2 separate regions of the Homo sapiens genome follow, and region 1 is linked to region 2. The links are contacts of gene promoters, found by promoter capture Hi-C in blood cells and fetal thymus (Javierre and others, 2016). All regions are on one chromosome and are shown on one strand. The core of a region is centred on a gene start or on the middle of the fragment in contact, and the rest is flanking DNA. Distances in the headings are between cores, read along the strand shown. Region 1 has its middle 19 kb from the start of CLEC3B. Region 2 holds the start of LIMD1-AS1 (LIMD1 antisense RNA 1).

Region 1 (3,348 bases), core at 180-2,679, 640 kb before region 2:
TTTTCTTGAGATGGAGTTTCACTCTTATTGCCCAGGCTGGAGTGCAATGGCGTGATCTCAGCTCACCACAACCTCTGCCTCCCAGGTTCAAGCGATTCTCCTGCCTCAGCCTCCTTAGTAGCTGGGATTACAGGCATGCGCCACCATGCCTGGCTAATTTTGTATTTTTAGTAGAGGCGGGTTTTCTCCATGTTGGTCAGGCTAGTCTTGAACTCCCGACCTTAGGTGATCTGCCCGGCTCGGCCTCCCAAACTGCTGGGATTACAGGCATGAGCCACCGTGCCTGGCCTCCAGTCAGCTTCCTTTAAGGAGTGTTCTCTTTTCCTTATATCTATCGCATAGGCCAGAACTTTTTCCAGTGTGTAGCTGTAAGGAAGGCTGAGAAGTGCAATCTTTTAAGTAGTTACCTTGACACCCAAATTAAATTAAACTCTTTAAGGAAAGGGCAAATGGGAAGCAACTAGAAGTTTGTGTCATGGAGCCATTGCAGACCCAAAGCCTGAATGTTGGAGGGAACTGGAAACTAGGGGGCAGGAGAATTAAAAGATCTTGAAGACTAAATGATGACTCATCCGTCTGGTTCCCAAAAGCTTGCTCCTATGAGTCTTTCAGTAGAGGAAGAATGTTTTCAATTGTGCGGCTGGGTTAAATCCTAGTTCCTTTTCAACAAATTCCTAGTTCCTAAGCATGGCTTTCTCAGCCTTTGCTTTGGAATTAGCCCTCTCAAGAGGCCTCTTCTTAAAGAGCATGAACCTAGGAGAGTGCTATGCCCCTAAGTAGCTTCCTACCTGCCTATTCCTGCATGGTAGGATCATTGATTGCTGGCTCTGTGACTCTGTGGCAGAGCTTGACTAAACTTTGCACAGCTTTTTTATTCTCCCACTCCCTTGGAGAGTTAGTTGCACCCTTTTACCAGTCATGTCCCAGTAGGAAACAGATTCCAACTCAGTTCAAAAGACTGTAATGAGGCCGGGCCTGGTGGCTTAAGCCTGTAATCCCAGCACTTTGGGAGGACAAGGTGGGCAGATCACCTGAGGTCAGGAGTTTGTGACAAGCCTGGCCAACATGCTGAAACCCCATCTTTACTAAAAATACAAAAATTAGCTGGGCATGGTGGCACGTACCTGTAATCCCAGCTACTTGGGAGGCTGAGGCAGGAGAATCACTGGGACTCAGGAGACAGAGGTTGCAGTGAGCCGAGATCGCACCACTGCACTCCAGCCTGGGCAACAGAGTGTGATTCTGTCTCAAAAAAAAAAAAAAAGACTGAAAGGATTACAGGCAGTCCTCAATTTATACAGTTCTGATATGCTTAAATATCAATGATCATGTTTTAGTTAAATAACACAGTCCCCCAACCAGATAGTTCAAATTTCAGCTACATTGTTATACTGGTAAAGTATAATTTTATTTTATTTTATTTTTTATTTATTGAGATGGAGTCTTGCTCTGTCATCCAGGCTGGAGTGCAGTGGCATGATCTCGGCTCACTGCAAACTCTGCCTCCTGGGTTCAAGTGATTCTCCAGCCCCAGCCTCCTGAATAGCTGGGACTACAGGCACATGCCACCATACCTGGCTAATTTTTGTATTTTTAGTAGAGATGGGGTTTCACCATGTTGGCCAGGCTGGTCTCAAACTCCTGACCTCAAGTGATGTCCCCCCCTCGGCCTCCCAAAGTGCTGGGATTACAAGTGTGAGCCACTGCACCTGGCCCCTTGCTAAAGTATAATTTCACTGCTAACTCTTCAGGCCACACATCACTAACAGATATGCTGCATGATCAGTGACCCACCACATTGCTTCTTTCAAAGTGTATTGGTGACTGGGCACCATGTGCCTGTTATTCAGCTCATCCACTGGCAGCACAGTGTGTAGTTGTGTTGCACTTTGTCTTCTGGTGAGAAATTCATGTGACAGTTTACAAAAATGGATAATTGAAAGAGGGAACTGACTAATAAAGATAAAAATGCAGCAAAGAAATGCAAAGTGAGAATGATGGAAGTGAGGTTTGTGTAGAATATAAATGGAGTTAGAAAAGAAAAAGCTGACTGTGGGAAGGTGGATGCTGCTGCTGTTTGAAGTTCTGGATATGCAACCAGAGGAACGTAGTGACCGTGAGCTTATCTACATAAATGACAACAGTGCCTGTGGCAAAAAGGATAAAGATGTCCTGGAGGAAATGATGCCAGCAAAAAACCACGAAAAGGAATTCTTAGAGATATTTTGTGACATTGAAAGCAAGAAAGATAAAATGTAAGAACTAATCCAAGCTTGAGAAGGAGGATGACAATTTTCCGGGAATAGAAAAGATACCCACTGAATCGAAATCTATATATAATGGGAAGGAAGTGGCAAGCACTGTCCAAACGGTTCTCGGTAAGATTTTCACAAAGAAAACACTTTAATTTCCAATGTTTCTAATGTTTTCAATTAGTGTATTTAATATCAATTTTTGCGACTTTTTCTCTTACTGACAGTAAGAAAGTTTAATGTTTTGACAAACATTTTTGAAAGGTCAGAGGACAATCGTCCTCTTCCCCATCGATTATTAAGATTGTTTTGCATGGTTTCAGCTTACATGGCCATTTTACAGTCCTAGACTACTGTGCAAAGTGAGTGCTTCCCATACTTACACAGCTCTGGGTACTATTCAGCAAAACGACAAGGGATATTAAGGCATTCAGAGGCTGGCCACAGCGGGAAGTACCCTGTCAGGCAGAAGGCCACAGGAGGAAATAATGCTGCTGGAGCCATAGCCGGTCCACGCAATAAGCGATCTCTCGGTGGAGGACATAGCCATAGACAGAAAATGCAGCAAAGCACACAGAGGAGACTGGGAGGAAAGAGCCCAGCACCTGCCTCTGTACAACCTCTTAACTCTTGCAGGTGCTTTCCACTGGGGGAAGCCAGCTGGAAGCCAGCTAGCCGTGGGTCCGGGCAATGCAGTCTGGTCAGACTCCCAGGGCACAGAGCTGGGTGGAGGTGGATGGAGCCCAACTGGGGGCTTACATACACTTAACATTGTACTTTCTTTCTTTCTTTCTTTTTTTTTTCAGACAGAGTCTCACTCTGTCACCCAGGCTGGAGTGCAATGGTGCAATCTTGGCTCACTGCAACCTCCACCTCCTGGCTTCAAGCAGTTCTCCTGCCTCAGCCTCCTAAGTAGCTGAGATTACAGGCACGGGCCACCACGCCTGGCTAATTTTTGTATTTTTAGTAGAGATAGTGTTTCACTATGTTGTCCAGGCTGGTTTTGAACTGCTGACCTCAGGTGATCCGCCTGCCTCCCAAAGGGCTGGGATTACAGGAGTGAGCCACCGCGCCTGGCCGTACCTTCGTGTTTATG
Region 2 (3,347 bases), core at 592-3,091:
TAATATATTAAAAAATCAAATTTGTAAGAAAAAATTCAATACATCAAGAGAAAATATATAAAGTACATGTAAAAGGAAGTTCCATATTCCAATTATGAAAATTGCAAATCACGGTTAAATTTATAATAGCCAGTGTTGGTTAGCATGCACGAAAACAGAGAAACAGGTGCTGTTGATGGAAGTGTGTTTTGGTTTAATTTTTTGGAGGGCAGTCAGAAAGTAACAAAAGTCTTAAAAATGTCCATAAAATGGACCTTACAGATGTCCACCTGGTCGTTCCACCTCTAGAAATTTGTAAGACAAATAATTCGGCCGGGCACAGTGGCTCACATCTAACCCCAGCACTTTGGGAGGCTGAGGTGGGCGGATCACGAGATCAGTAGATCAAGACCATCCTTGCTAACACGGTGAAACCCCGTCTCTACTAAAAAATACAAAAAATTAGTCGGGCGTGGTGGCACACACCTGTAGTCCCAGTTACTTGGGAGGCTGAAGCAGGAGAATTGCTTGAACCCGGGAGGCAGAGACTGCAGTAAGCCGAGATCACGCCACTGCACTCCAGCCTGGGTGACAGAGCGAGACTCCGTCTCAAAATAATAATAATTCAACACAGGGTCTCATTCTGTTGCTCAGGCTGGAGTGCAGTGGCATGGTAACAGCTCACTGCAGCCTCAACCTCCTGGGCTGAGGTGATCCTCCCACCTCAGCCTCCTGAGTAGCTAGGACTATAGGTGCACACCACCACACCTGGCTAATTAAAATTTATTTATTTATTTAGTAAATAGAGATGAGGTCTTGCTATGTTGCCCAGGCTGGTCTCGAACTCCTAAGCAGCATCATTTTTTCTAGGTGTTAAACTGACAACCACCCAAATTCCCAGCATAAGGATTCTGCTTAAAATATCTAGCTCTCTGATGAAATATCTTCAAAGAATATTTAATGACCTTAAATCTCAGACAAAAAGGTAAGGAGACAAAATGAGGAACCCATTTCCGTACAACCCCAATTTGGAAAAACACATGTGCAAGTATGCCCATGTTAAAAAATATAGAAGAAAAAAAGGCTTTAAGGAAAAAAAAAATAATAGTAATGATTTAGGGTGGGAATCGCGTTAATATTCCCAATAATTTTATATATTTTAAAAATCTATAATTTTATCAGGGGAAAACGTTATGTTGCGGAAATTAATTGATCGATTGAGTGATTGGTTAACGGACAGTGTCCGATGACTCATATAATCCCCCGGTTCGAGTCCCTTTAGGCCGCAGACGTTTCGCGCCTTCTCGGGTGTCCAAGTCGCGCATCCATACAATGAGGGGTAATATACTAGATTACCTGAGGTCTTCTTACGGTAAAAACACCGGTGTCTTAAGGTTTCCCAGTGGAATTTGGGGGCCGGGTTGACTTCGGAGCTGGAGCTCGCAAAGGCCGGGGCTGCTGCAGATTCTGACGCTTTGTGGACCCCTACTACCGAGCGCAGCCGCACCGCAGGTTTTCTTCGCTGCTGGTTAGATCCAAAGCCCATCCCATCCTAGTAAACTGGGACAGCGCCGCTTCTCACATCACTATGGGGGCTTCTGCTCCGTGGCGGGGAAAGGCCAGAACTGCTGCCTTAAATACGCTTTTGCATCATCCGGTTGCTAACCTCCGGCCACAGCATTCCCCACTCCAAAATGCCACTTTTCCAGGTGTGTTTGCCTAAATTTACCCCATTTACAGACTTCTCAGGTGCATCATTGGGAACAGGGCGCTTTGCAGTTTGCAAACCACCTCAGACAACTCCAGGTTTAAAGGATAAAGGATGACATTGTGAGCAAAGCGGCATCAAAATTTCAGATATTTAACTTTCACATTCTAACCATACACCTTTCCAAGGTCTTGTAATACTTTCACATTGTGAATATACATCTTTACAAGACCCAGTAGTACATGGGTCAAGTGTGGCAAAACAGACATCGCGAGCCAGCCAGGAGTCGAACCTAGAATCTTCTGATCCGTAGTCAGACGCGTTATCCATTGCGCCACTGGCCCCGACTTGCTAAAGCCTTCTCCGTGATAGCTGATCACCCTTATACAGTTTGAACGGGCTTCCGGGTACCAACGATCCATTTTGCCCTTGCGCCGCGCTCCCGCTGCTCTGCCTTTCCCCAAAACGCGCCCCACCAATCCGCAGCGGCTTCGTCACGGCGCTCTTCGTCGCACTCCAACCCGCCGCGTCGGCGGCATCTCTCGCGTGCTCTTGCTTGCGCACTAATTTGTCCTCCACCGCCTCCCGTTCAGGCCGGCTCTCCTGCGGGGCGGGGAAAGGGGTGGGAAGAGGCTGGGAGCTGCGGCCGCTGTGCCAGGGTGACCGGTAGAGTTGTAGCCGAGGTGGCGGCGCGGGGCGGGGCGGGCGGAGAGAGAAGGAAGGAGGTGGTTGTGCAGGATGGCGACGGCGGCCTACGAGCAGCTGAAGCTGTGAGTCCCACGGGCCAGAGGCCTGAGGCGCGGCGGGCGGGGCGGCAGGTGCGGGCCCTGGCCTCGGGGAGGGCTTCTGAGTCCCGGATTGCAGATAGGGTGTGGGAGCTCCTCGCATTTACCGGTTTTCCTCAGCCGGCGCGGCCTCTCCTAGGCCTCGCCCGAGTAGCCATAGGCCGGGAACCAGCGGCTCGCCGGCCTTTCTCCACCGTGCTCGGCCCCAGCGCCCACGGCTGAAGAGAGAAGCTGCCGACTGGCCCCCACCGAGCCGGGGTCGGCGTTATGATGCGGCCCTTCAGGGCACGCTTGTCCCCACTTTCTATGCAGAGCTACCGACTAAATTTATCTGTATGACTTAACAGAGAAAAAGAGTTTTCTCTTACTTAACGGACCTACAGCAGCAATTTAGAGTCTACGCACAAATCAACAAATCTTTGTTTTGCTTACAGCCTATCTGGGTACCGAAGCCTGCCTGCCCCCTCTTCAGTGTGCAGAAAAAATTTAAAGTACAGTCAGTAGTCTTAAGGTCCTGAAGGAGTTTACTTTGGTTTAAATTTTAAACAGCTCCAGCCTAAAGCAGGTTCTTAAGTCAGTGTCGACAGCCAGAGGCTAATCTCGGTAATTTTGGTACTGCAAATTGACTTTTCGGTAAATCCAAGTTCTTGAGTCTTTGATACAGAGGCTGTGGTTGTTAAGAGTTATAAAATAGGTGTTTTTAAGGGTTTTGGTTTGTCTTGGATTAAAAACAACATGTGTTTATTTCCCTTAGTGTTACCCATTAGCATCCACACTTTTCTTGTCTGTGAATAATTTTGTTGTACTCACTTCGTGTTTAATGCTTTACCCCTAGGCTGTTTGAAAATCTGGTGGCCACAGCCTGGGAATATCTG

What was found. Contacts are between HindIII fragments. The CHiCAGO score rates a contact against its expected background, and 5 or more counts as called.
Region 1: a fragment that was not itself captured here is called in contact with the fragment with the promoter of LIMD1-AS1 in region 2 in 3 of 17 cell types (fetal thymus, erythroblasts and megakaryocytes); the score reaches 9.5 in fetal thymus.

The regions. Positions count from the first base shown.
Region 1 is chr3:45,043,336-45,046,683 of GRCh38, forward strand. No RefSeq gene overlaps it. Among named protein-coding and RNA genes, the nearest start is that of CLEC3B, 19 kb to the left of the region's middle. The HindIII fragment of the contact is 1,682 bases long and covers 589-2,270 here.
Region 2 is chr3:45,687,041-45,690,387 of GRCh38, forward strand. It overlaps LIMD1-AS1 (LIMD1 antisense RNA 1), which reads right to left and starts at 1,842. Exons shown (of 3, transcript NR_033947.1): 1 at 1,336-1,842. SACM1L (SAC1 like phosphatidylinositide phosphatase) reads left to right here and starts at 2,356. Exons shown (of 20, transcript NM_014016.5): 1 at 2,356-2,457. The coding sequence starts at 2,426. It overlaps TRR-ACG2-1 (tRNA-Arg (anticodon ACG) 2-1), which reads right to left and starts at 2,031; the gene lies at 1,959-2,031. RefSeq lists enhancers at 1,158-1,227, 1,738-1,787, 2,048-2,337 and a silencer at 2,368-2,547. The HindIII fragment of the contact is 5,339 bases long and covers 1-3,347 here.